Linked DNA regions of Homo sapiens: region 1 is linked to region 2. Evidence: promoter capture Hi-C in 16 types of primary human blood cells and fetal thymus (Javierre and others, 2016). All regions are on one chromosome and are shown on one strand. Each heading gives the region's core, a stretch centred on a gene start or on the middle of the fragment in contact. The rest is flanking DNA. Distances are from core to core; before and after follow the strand shown. Region 1 has its middle 34 kb from the start of PXYLP1. Region 2 holds the start of SLC25A36 (solute carrier family 25 member 36).

The links. The method cuts DNA at HindIII sites, captures the fragments that hold promoters and counts their contacts. A CHiCAGO score of 5 or more calls a contact.
Region 1: a fragment that was not itself captured here is called in contact with the fragment with the promoter of SLC25A36 in region 2 in 1 of 17 cell types (fetal thymus); the score reaches 6.1 in fetal thymus.

The regions. Positions count from the first base shown.
Region 1 is chr3:141,194,922-141,201,026 of GRCh38, reverse strand. No RefSeq gene overlaps it. Among named protein-coding and RNA genes, the nearest start is that of PXYLP1, 34 kb to the left of the region's middle. The HindIII fragment of the contact is 8,441 bases long and covers 372-6,105 here.
Region 2 is chr3:140,937,968-140,943,942 of GRCh38, reverse strand. It overlaps SLC25A36 (solute carrier family 25 member 36), which reads right to left and starts at 2,107. Exons shown (of 7, transcript NM_001104647.3): 1 at 1,848-2,107. The coding sequence starts at 1,888. RefSeq lists enhancers at 954-1,183, 823-1,670, 1,764-2,133. The HindIII fragment of the contact is 2,098 bases long and covers 1,086-3,183 here.

The DNA.
Region 1 (6,105 bases), core at 3,343-5,842, 250 kb before region 2:
TGAAGTTCCTGGTCCCAGAGTAGCCCGACCTCCTGCTCCTGCCTTCTTCTCTCTGGCTTGTCTGCTGCAGAATTCTTCATATCCAGATTCTACTGCAGCTTAAATATTCCCTCTTCCAGGGAGCCTTGGGTGGCCTATCCCTCAGTCCTTTCTTGTCTTGCTAGAACACTTGCCATTGTCCAACCATCCATCTATACACTCATCCATCCATCCATCCATCCATCCATCCATCCATCCATCCATCTATCTACTCACCAATCCATCCACCTATACCCTTACCCATCCACCCAGCTATTCATCCATCTATCTATCCATTTACCTATCTCCCCACTTATCTGCACTTCCATCTCCTCTGCTGTGTCCTGTAAGCTTCACATTTATGTCCTAACAACACAGTAGAGGTCATTCCTTAAGGTCATAGAGTAGATCTTTTTTTTTTAACTTTTAAGTTCAGGGGTACAAGTGCATGTTGTTACATAGGTAAACTTGTGTCATGGGGTTTGTTGTACAGACTATTTCATCACCTGGGTATCAAGCCTAGTACCCATTAGTTATTTTTCCTGATCTTCTCCCTCCTCCACCCTCACCTTCTGAAAGGCCCCAGTGTGTTCTCTATGTGTCCAGATGTTCTTATCATTTAGTTCCGACTTAGGAGTGAGAAAATGCAATATTTGGTTTTATGTTCCTGTGTTAGTTTGCTAAGGATAATGGCCTCTAGTTCCATCCATGTCCCTGAAAAAGACATCATCTCTTTCTTTTTATTGCTGCAGAGTATTCCATGGTGTATATGTGCCACATTTTCTTTATCCAGTCTATCATTGATGGTCATTTAGGTTGATTCCATGCCTTTGCTATTGTGAATAGTGCTGCAGTGAACATACATGTGTATGTGTCTTTATAATAGAATGATTTATATTCCTTTGGGTATATATCCAGCAATGGGATTGCTGGGTCGAATAGTATTTCTGTCTTTAGGTCTTTGAGGAATTGTTACACTGCCTTCCACAATGGCTGAACTAATTTACACTCCCAGCAACAGTGTAGAAGTGTTCCTTTTTTTCCACAACCTCACCAACATCTGGGTTTCTTTTTTTACTTTTTAATAGTAGCCATTCTGACTGGTGTGAGATGGTACCTCATTACAGTTTTGATGTGCATTTCTCTAATGATCAGTGCTGTTGAGCTTTTTTTCATGATTATTGGCTGCATGTATGTCTTCTTTCAAAATGTGTCTGCTCATGTCATTTGCCCATTTTTTTATGGGGTTGCTTGTTTTTTTTCTTGTAAATTTGTTTAAGTTCCTTATAGACTCTGGATATTAGACCTTTGTCAGATACATAGTTTGCAAATATTTTCTCCCATTCTGTAGGTTGTCTGTTTATTCTGTTGATAGTTTCTTTTGCTGTGCAGAAGCTCTTACATTTAATTAGATCTCATTTGTCAATTTTTGCTTTTGTTGCAATTGCTTTTGGTATCTTCACCATGAAATCTTTGCCGTGCATACGGAATGGTATTGCCTATGTTGTCTTCCAGGATTTTTATAGTTTTGGGTTTTACATTTAAGTCTTTAATCAATCTTGGGTTAATTTTTGTATAAGATGTAAGGAAGGAATCCAGTTCCAATCTTCTGCAATATGGCTAGCCAGTTATACCAGCACCATTTATTGAATAGGGAATCCTTTCCCCATTGCTTGTTTTTTTCAGGTTTGTCTAAGATCAGGTAGTTGCAGGTGTGTGATCTCATTTCTGGGTTCTCTATTCTGTCCCACTGGTCTGTGTGTCTGTTTTTGTGCCAGTACCATGCTATTTTGGTTACTGAGCCCTGTAGCATAGTTTGAAGTCAGGTAGCATGATGCCTCCAGCTTTGTTCTTTTTGCTTAGAATTGCCTTGGCTATTCAGGCTCTATTTTGGTTCCATATGAATTTTAAAATAGTTTTCTCTAGTTCTGTGAAGAATGTAAATGGTAGTTTAATAAGAATAGCATTGAATCTATCAATTGCTTTGGGCAGTATAGCCATTTTAATGATGTTGATTCTTCCTATCCATGAGCATGGAATATTTTTCCATTTGTTTGTGTCCTTTCTGATTTCTTTGAGCAGTGGTTTGTGGTTCTCTTTGTAGAGACCTTTCACCTCCTTAGTTAGCTGTATTTCTAGGTATCTCTTCTTTTTGCGGCAATTGTGAATGGGAATTTTTTCCTGATTTGGCTCTCAGCTTCACTGTTGTTGGTGTATAGAAATGCTAGTGATTTTTGCACATTGATTTTGTATCCTGAGACTTTGCCGAAGTTGTTTATCAGCTTATAAACTTTTGTGCTGAGACTATGGTGTTTTCTAGATATGGAATCATGTCATCTGCAAACAGTGATAATTTGACTTCCTCTCTTCCTATTTGGATGCCATTCATTTTTTTTCTCCTGCCTGATTGCCCTGGCCAGAATTTCCAATACTACGTTGAATAGGAGTGGCAAAAGAGGGCATCCTTGTCTTCTGCCAGTTTTCAAGGAAAATGCTTCCAGCCTTCGCCCATTCAGTATGATGTTGGCTGTGGGTTTGTCATACATGGCTCTTATTATTTTGAGGTATGTTCCTTCAATACCTAGTTTATGGAGAGTTTTTAACATGAATTAATGTTGAATTTTATAAAAATCCTTTTCTGCATTCTATTGAGAAAATTATGTGCTTTTTGTCTTTGGTTCCATTTATGTAATGAATCACATTTATTGATTTGTGTATGTTGAACCAACTTTGCATCCACAGTGAAGCCTGCTTGATCATGGTGGATAAACTTTTTGATGTGCTACTGGATTTGGTTTGCCAGTATTTTGTTGAGGATTTTTGCATTGATGTTCATCTAGGATATTGGCCTAAAGTTTCCTTTTTTTGTTGTATGTCTGCCAGGTTTTGGTATCATTCTATGATGCTGGCCTCAGAATGAGTTAGGGAGAAGTCCCTCTTTCTCAATTTTTTGGAATAGCTTCAGTAGGAATGGTACTAGCTCTTCTTTGTATGTCTGGAAGAATTGAGCTGTGAATCTGTCTGGTCTTGAACTTTTTTTGATCAGTAGGCTATTTCTTACTGCCACAATTTCACCACTCGTTATTGATCTATTCAGGGATTCAATTTATTCCTGTTTCAGTCTTTGAAGGGGTATGTGTCAAGGAATTTATCCATTTCTTCTACATTTTCTACTTTATATGCACAGAGGTGTTTATAATATTCTCTGATGGTAGTTTGTATTTCTGTGGGGTCAGTGCCAATATCCTCCTTGTTGTTTCTGGCTGTGTTTATTTGAATCTTCTCTCTTTTCTTCTTTATTAGTCTAGCTAGTGGTTTACCTATTTTATTAATTTTTTTTCAAAAAACCAGCTCCTGGATTCATTGATTGTTTGAAGGGTTTTTCATGTCACTATCTCCTTCAGTACAGCTCTATTTCTTGACTTCTGCTAACTTTGGCATTTGTTTGTTCTTTGTTCTCTAGTTCTTTTAGAACTAGTTTCTTTTGTGATGTTAGGTTGTTAACTTGAGATCTGACTTTTTGATGTGGTCATTTAGTGCTATAAATTTTCCTCTTAACACTCCCTTAGCTGTGTCCCAGAGATTCTGGTATATGGTATCTTTGTTCTCATTAGTTTGAAAGAACTCCTTGATTTCTGCCTTAATTTCATTATTTATTAAAAAGTCATTCAGGAGCATGTTATTCAACTTCCATGAAATTGTATGGTTTTGAGTGAATTTCTTAGTTTTGATTTTGAATTTGATTGCACTGTGGTCCAAGAGAGTGTTTTTTATGATTTTGGTTCCTTTGCATTTGCTGAGGAGTATTTTACTTCCAATTATGTGATCAACTTTACAGTAAGTGCCATGTAGCAATGAGAAGAATGTATATTCTCTTGTTTTTGGGTGGAGAGTTCTGTAGGTGTCTATCAAGTCCATTTGATCCAGTGCTGAGTTCAGGTCCTGAATGTCTTTGTTAATTTTCTTTCTCAATAATCTAATATTGTCAGCGGGGTTTTAGAGTCTCCCACTATTATTGTGTGGGAATCTAAGTCTCTTTGAAGGTCTCTAAGAACCTGCTTTATGAACCTGGGTGCCCCTGTGTTGAGCGCATATATATTTAGGATAGTTAGATCTTCTTGTTGAATTGAACCCTTTACCATTATGTAATGCCCTTCTTTGTCTTTTTTGATCGTGTTGGTTTAAAGTCTGTTTCGTCAGAAACTAGGATTGCAACCCCTGTTTTCTTCTGTTTTCCATTTGCTTGGTAGATTTTCCTCCATCCCTTTATTTTGAGGCTATGTGTGTTGTTGCATGTGAAATGACTCTCTTGAAGATACCATACCATTGGACTTTGGTTCTCTATCCAGCTTGCCACTCTATGTTTTTTAAACTGGGGCATTGTGCCATTCACATTTAAGGTTAGTATTGGTATGTATAGATTTGATCCTGTCATCATGATGTTAGCTGTTTATTTTGCAGACTTACGTGGTTGCTTTATAGTGTCACTGGTCTGTACATTTCAGTGTGTTTTTGTAGTGTCTGCTAATGGTCTTTCTTTTCCATATTTAGTGCTTTCTTCAGGAAGTAAGGCAGGTCTGGTGGTAACAAATTCCCTCAGCATTTGTTTGTCTGAAAAAATCTTATTTCTACTTTGCTTATGAAGTTTAGTTTTGCTGAATATTAAATTCTGGGTTGGAATGTTTTTCTTTAAGAATGTCGAATATCGGCCCTCAATCCCTTCTGGCTTGTAGAATTTCAGCTGAGGGGTCTGCTGTTAGTCTTATGGGCTTCCCTTTGTAGGTGACCTAGCCTTTCTCTCTAGCTGCCTTTAACATTTTTTCTTTCATTTCCACCTTGGAGAATCTGATGATTATGTGTCTTAGGGGATGATATTCATATTGAGTATCTCACTGGGGTTTTCTGCATTTCCTGAATTTGAATGCTGGCCTCTCTAGCTAGGTTGAGGAAGTTCTCAAGGATATACTGAAATATGTTTTTCAAGTTGGTTCCATTCTCCCCATCTCTTTCAGGTACACTGATCAATCGTAGATTCAGTCTCTTCACATAATCTCATTCTTTTTCTTGCAGGTTTTGTTCATTCCATTTTATTCATTTTTTCTCTCTCGTCTGCCTGTCTTATTTCAGAAAGGCAGTCTTCAAGCTCTGATATTCTTTCCTCCGCTTGTTGTATTCTGCTATTAATACTTGTGATTGCATTATGAAGTTCCTGTACTGTGTCTTTCAGCTCTATCAGGTCAGTTACAGTCTTCTCTATACTGGCTACTTTGTTAGCTCCTGCAATATTTTAGCATGATTCTTAGCTTCCTTGCATTGAGTTACAATGTACTCCTTTAGTTCCATGAACTTTCCATATTCTGAACTTTCCATATTCTGAATTCTACTTCTGTCATTTTAGCTATCTCAGCCTCATCTGAAATTTTGCTGGAGAGGTTATGTGGTCATTTGGGAGAAAGAGGACACTTTGGCTTTTTGAGTTTTCAGTGGTCTGGCACTGACTCCTTCTCATCTTTCTGGGCTTATTTGCCTTCAATCTTTGAGGTTACTGACTTTTGGATGGATTTTTTTTTTCTTTTAACAGTCTGGCCACCTTTCTGTCAGGCTGCTACAGTATGCTGGGGGTCTGCTCCAGTGCATGGTCACCTCAGATTTTTCAGTGTCTGGAGGTATCACCAGTGAAGGCTGCAAAACAGCACAGATGGCAGCCTGCCCCTTCCTTTGGAAGTTCTGTTCCAAGGTGGTATGGACCTGTTGCTGGCTCAAATGCATCTGTAGATGGCCAGGGACTCCAGATAGGAGGTCTCATTCAGTCAGAAAGAATGGGATTGGGACCTCCTTAAAAAAGTAGTCTGGCCATATGTTCATAGAGCAGCTGTGCTGTGCTGGGGATACACTTCAGCCCCTGGTCACCTTGGACATTCCAAAGCCCAAAGGCTGGAATGGCTAAGTTGACCAAACAGCCAAGATGGCAGCCTGCCCCTCCTCCTGGGGGAGGAGGTATCCATCCCAAGGAGTCCTGAAACTTCTGTCAGCTGGAGAACACTGGTGAGTGTAGCTGGAGGCTCTGGTTAGGAGGCTCCACTTGGT
Region 2 (5,975 bases), core at 858-3,357:
TAATCTGTGTGTTTAGATGCTACAAACACCTCCCATTCCTGTTCTTAAACCAGAAAACCTATATTTACATGTTTTTATAACAAAATGATGATCCTAATCCAAAGTGGGAAATTAGTGCAATCAAGCTAACATTTATTTCAAATATAAGTATGCCCCATTTTTAACTAAACTTGATACATGAATCCTGAACGCAGAATAATAGAAATGTTAGGAGCTAGAGAAGGGCTTTAGAGATCATATAATACAACCTCCTAATTTTATAGATGAAGCAATTGAAATAAAAGTGTCCATTTTTCACCCAAATTAAAATAGTGCTAGACTACATCTGCGGTCTCCTCACTTCAGGGTTATAGATCTAATTACAAGAGGGAGCTCAATTATTTGCATGAGATCTTTTCAAGAGCATCTACATAGCTACAGAATTTTTTTAAAAAGATTTAATTTGCCTGATTATTGGCAGTAAACATTTCAGAAATATGGAAAGCAAACTGCCTAAACTGGGTCTCACAGATCAATAGAAAAATATTGTTTTTATGCCAGAACAGTGGCCGGCCCATAATTGGTGTACAACAAATATTTGTTGATGAAAGTGTGCCAACCTAAAGAAAGTATTGCCATCACTGGCTCAATAGAGTCCATATGTCCAACTCAAAGCAAGGCACCGTGAATAGAACTGCGTGTGTATTTCTTTCATATTCTTAAAAGTCGATCTAAAAACTGCAGGATTTAAGAAGATGCCGGTAAGAGTCTCAGCATAATTCACCGAAGGCATTTTTGATAAGAAAACTCTTTATAATCCTCCAAATAAGTAACTCTTAAAATTGCTATGATTCTCCAAATGATTTAGAAGGAGCAAATCTAAACAGGAGGCTAAACTGGAAGCTCTAACACTCATTTTGGCAATCAGGGAACTAAGACTTTAGGCTTAGTCCTAATCTTGCACACACATAGTAACTATTAACACTATCTTCAAAAAATCTGACCTCTCTCCACTCCTACTTTCTCCTAAGCAGCAGAAAAGCAAGCGGTGTTCAAGAGGGGTGGTTTTCTCGAAAGGAATCTGACCCCAAAGGTACTGGAAAGCTTTGCACCCCATTCACCACCTGGAAAACCTCGGGCAAGAAATTTTCCAAGGGCTAGAAACACCCTACAGCAACCACGGGAGAATACCAAAGCCTTCCCCGCTCGATCCCGTAGCCCCCTTACCACCCACCTTGCAAAGCCGAGCCCGGAAATGAGCGGCCCGAGGTCCGAGGTGGGGCGTGAGTGACGTGCAGAGGCCCAAGCGAGCGCTGCAAGGAGCGAGGGCTAAAGGAGTCTCCGGCGCCCATTTTGTCCTCAGCCTCCGCACTTTCCGCCCCGTCCCCTTGGGCCATGCAACCTACGCGAAATCCGAAGCCAGGCTCCTCAAAGCGGCCCTGGATCCCCGACGCCTGCTAGATTGCGGCGTGCGGCCAGGTCCAGCGGCGTCCGGGTAATCAAGCGCCGACCCCAGCTCTTGCCCGCGTCTCCTCAGACGCATGGATTCGGCCTCCGCCTCACCCCGGCCCCGCGGGCCCAAAACCTCACTCCCGGCCCGGGTTTCATGCCTCAACCCTCTTTGCCCGGGCCTCACTCTCTCGCCCTCGGGCCCGGGCCTCACCCCCTTGCTTCCCCGAACCGGAGCCCCCCTCACCACCCACGGGCTGGGTCGCTCCCCTCACCCGCAGGCCCGTGGCAGCTCCCCGCCCAGGCCTCACTCCCGCCCCCCCACCCCCCCACCCCCCTCGGCCCCCCTCGCCCCCCTCGCCTGCGTCTTCGGCCCCAGCACCCTCAGCCCCAGTGCGCACGCCCCGCCAGGACCTTACCCTCCGGCAAACAGATGCACCAGCGTGTCCCTCTGGCTCATTCTCTCTCCCGCATGTCCTCCGGCCGCTGAGGCGGGACGCGGATCTGGCCGCCCGCTACGGCAGGCGGCTTCGGTCCCGGACTGGAGACGCACAGCGCCCCGGGGACGGCGAGGAGAGCTGGCCGAGATGCGGCTGCAGAAAGCAACCGGCACAGCCCTCCCCGCGGCACTCCAGCCGCGCCACCGCCTGCCTAAGCGCGCCGCCCTTCACCAGAGGCTGAAAGCGACGCAGCGCAGCGCGACGGAGAGTGGGCGGGGGATGGTAGGGGGAAGATGACTATTTGATGGCTCCCGACATAAACAGAGGCTCCCATTGGTGTGAGCGTCGTGACGTCACGCACTCTGCAGTGTTCTTTCACGTGATCCCTACGGGCTCTTTCAATGAAAGGGGCCGCGAGGCGTGGCCAGAACGCGTGCCCGGAGGGTGGTAGGTCACCGCGCTCCTAGCACCTGAGACCTGGGGCGCCCCTGGCCTGAGTGAACGCGCCAATCACGGCTGCACTCTCCTGAACAGGGAACTGGCGGGGCGGGAAAAATCGACTTGGTTCCGGGTTCGCAAGCGGATTTACTTTGAAAAAATTGGATTTATGACCCAGCAGTTCCCTTGGTGTCTATCTCAGAGTAACCCTCGCACAATGCATAAAAAGGTTTGTGCACGGATACTCCTATATAGGCTCACAAACAGTACAGAATTATGAACAATGCTTGCAGTTGCAGAAAATTGAAATCAGTGGGGGAATGAAGAAATAAATCATGAAACATTCCTACTATGGAATATTATGCAATCGTGACAAGGGATGAGGTGATTCCATATGGCAAAAAATCTCCCGAAGTGTGTAATAAGTAAAAAAGGCAAGTAGAATTAAAATACTTGGGTTTGTTTTTAAAAGAATAAAAGTTCATGGGAAATGGAATTAAAAGATAAAATTTAAAAATATAAACTTTGTTTTTCAACGTAAGCTCCATCAAGTTAAAGACAGTTTGGTAAGTGATGATACCGGCTCTTTAGTCCATCTGTAAAGAATTGAGGGTTCTGGGAATTTAATCATGAAAATGCAGGCTTTTTTACGTTATTAACTGAAGAAAAATGGGTGCCATTTACAGATTTTTCACGATTAGAAAACAAAAATATGTCAGAAGGAGCCAGGTCAGGAATGTAAGATGGATACCTGATAGTTTCCCATCGAAATCCCTGGAAAAATGCCCTTATTTAAAGAGAGGAATGAGCAGGAACATTGTCCTGATGGAGAAGGACTCTCTGGTGAAGATTTCGTAGGTGTTTTTATGCTAAAGCTTTGCTTCACTTTCTCCTATAGTAAGCGGATGTTATTGCTCTTCCACCCTCCAGAAAGTCAACAGGCAAAATACCTTGAGCATCCCAAAAAGCTGCTGCTATGACTTCGGCTCTTGACCAGTCTACTTTTGATTTGACTGGACCACTTGCACCTCTTGGTAACTATTGCTTTGATCCAGAATCATACTGAGAAAGCTATGTTTGATCTCCTGTTACAATTCTTCAAAGAAATGTTTCAATATATGATCCCACTTGTTTACAATTTCCATTGAAAGCCCTGCTCTTGTCTGCAGCTCATCTGGGTGCAACAGTTTTGCACCCATCGGGTGAAAAGTTTGCTCAACTTCAGTTTTTCAGTGAGAAATGTGTAAGTAGAACCAGTTGAAATGTCTATGGTGTTGTATATTATTTGTGCTGTTAATTGTGGGTCCTCTTCAATTAGGGCACACCGAAGAATAATCTTTTCCTCAAAAATCGATGTGGATTGTCTGCCACTGCAGGCTTCCTCTTCAACATTGTCTCATCCCTTCTGCAAACAAGTTATCCATTTGTAAACTTCAGATTTCTTTGGGGGAATTTTCCCCATCAAACTTTTGTAAAGCATCCTTGATTTCACCATTCTTCCACCCAATCTTGACCATAAATTTGATGTTTTTTCTTGCTTCAATTCATGCTGCTCTGATAGGGGCTGTTTTCAAGCTGATGTCTTATCCTTTTTAGTGCCTCAAACTAGATCTTGTTCAGATACATTATAACAAGTGAGTACGAATTTTTGGTGCAAAAAAGTTTGAAATTCATACATAGTTTTTTTTTTAGTTAGGAAAAATGTTTATATAAATTTAAATTTACATATATTCCATCCTTCTCTTAACTGAAAAGAGTAAGAAACTTTCTGAGATTTTCTTTGTTACCAGTTCCTTTTTTTTTTTTTTTTTTAATATACTTTAAGTTCTGGGATACATGTGGAGAATGTGGAGGTTTGTTATGTAGGTATACATGTGCCATGGTAGTTTGCTGCACCCATTAACTCGTTGTCTACATTAGGTATTTCTCCTAATGCTATCCATCCCCTTGCCCCCCAACCCCCGACAGGCCCCAGAGTGGATGTTCCCCTCCCTGTACCCATATGTTCTCATTTTTCAACTCCCACTTATGAGTGAGAACATGGGGTGTTTGGTTTTCTGTTCTTGTGTTAGTTTGCTGAGAATGATGGTTTGCAGCGTCATCCATGTCCCTCCAAAGGACATGATCTCATCTTTTTTATGGCCGCATAGTATTCCATGGTGTGTATGTGCCACATTTTCTTTATCCAGTCTAACATTGATGGGCATTTGGGTTGGTTCCAAGTCTTTGCTATTGTGAATAGTGCTGCCAGAAACATACGTGTGCATGTGTCTTTATAGTAGAATGATTTATAGACCTCTGGGTATATACCCAGTAATAGGATTGCTGGGTCAAATGGTATTTCTAGATCCTTGAGGAATCGCCACACCATCTTCCACAATCGTTGAACTTATTTACACTCCCACACTGTTACCCAGTGTGAAAGCATTCCTATTTCCCCACCTTCTCTCCAGCGTCTGTTGTTTCCTGACTTTTCAATGATCGCCATTCTAACTGGCGTGAGATGGTATCTCATTGTGGTTTGCATTTGCATTTCTCTAATGACTAGTGGTGATGAGCTTTTTTTCATATGTTTGTTGGCCACATAAACGTCTTGTTTTGAGAAGTGTCTGTTCATATCCTTCATTCATTTTTTGATGGGATTGTTTTTGTTGTTGTTTTGTTTTTGTTTTTGCTTGTTTTTTTTGAAACAGAGTCTTGCTCTTGTTACCCAGGCTGGAGTGCAATGGTGCAATCTCAGCTCACTGCAACCTCCACCTCCTGGGTTCAAGTGGTTCTCCTGCCTCAGCCTCCGTAGTAACTGGGATTAGAGGTGCCTGCCACCATGCGCAGCTAATTTTTTTTTTTTTTTGGTATTTTTAATAGAGACGGGGTTTCACTGTGTTGGCCAGGCTGGTCTTGAACTCCTGACCTCAGGCAATCCACCCGCCTCAGCCTCCCAAAGTACTGGGATTACAGGCATGAGCCACTGTGCCCAGCTGGTTTTTTTTTTTTTTTTTTTATAAATTTGTTTAAGTTCCTTGGAGATTCTGGATATTAGCCCTTTGTCAGATGGATAGATTGCAAAAATTTTCTCCCATTCTGTAGGTTGCCTGTTCACTCTGGATAGTTTCTTCTGCTGTGCAGAAGCTGTTTAGTTTAATGAGATCCCATTTGTCAATTTTGGCTTTTGTTGCCATTGCTTTTGGTGTTTTATTCATGAAGTCTTTGCCCATGCCTATGCCTGAATGATATTGCCTAGGTTTTCTTCTAGGGTTTTTATGATTTTAGGTCTTGTATTTAAATCTTTAATCCATCTTGAGTTAATTTTTGTATAAGGTGTAAGGAAGGAGTCCAGTTCCAGTTTTCTGCATATGGCTAGCAGTTTATTAAATAGGGACTCCTTTGCCCATTGCTTGTTTTTCTCAGGTTTGTCAAAGATCAGATGGTTGTAGATGTGTGGTGTTATTTCTGAGGCCTCTGTTCTGTTCCAGTGGTCTATATATCTGTTTTGGTACCAGTACCATGCTGTTTTGGTTACTGTAGCCTTGTAGTATAGTTTGAAGTCAGGTAGCATGATGCCTCCAGCTTTGTTCTTTTTTCTTAGGATTGTCTTGGCTATATGGGCTCTTTTTTGGTTGCATATGAAATTTAAAGAAGTTTTTTCTAATTCTGTGAAGAAAGTCCATG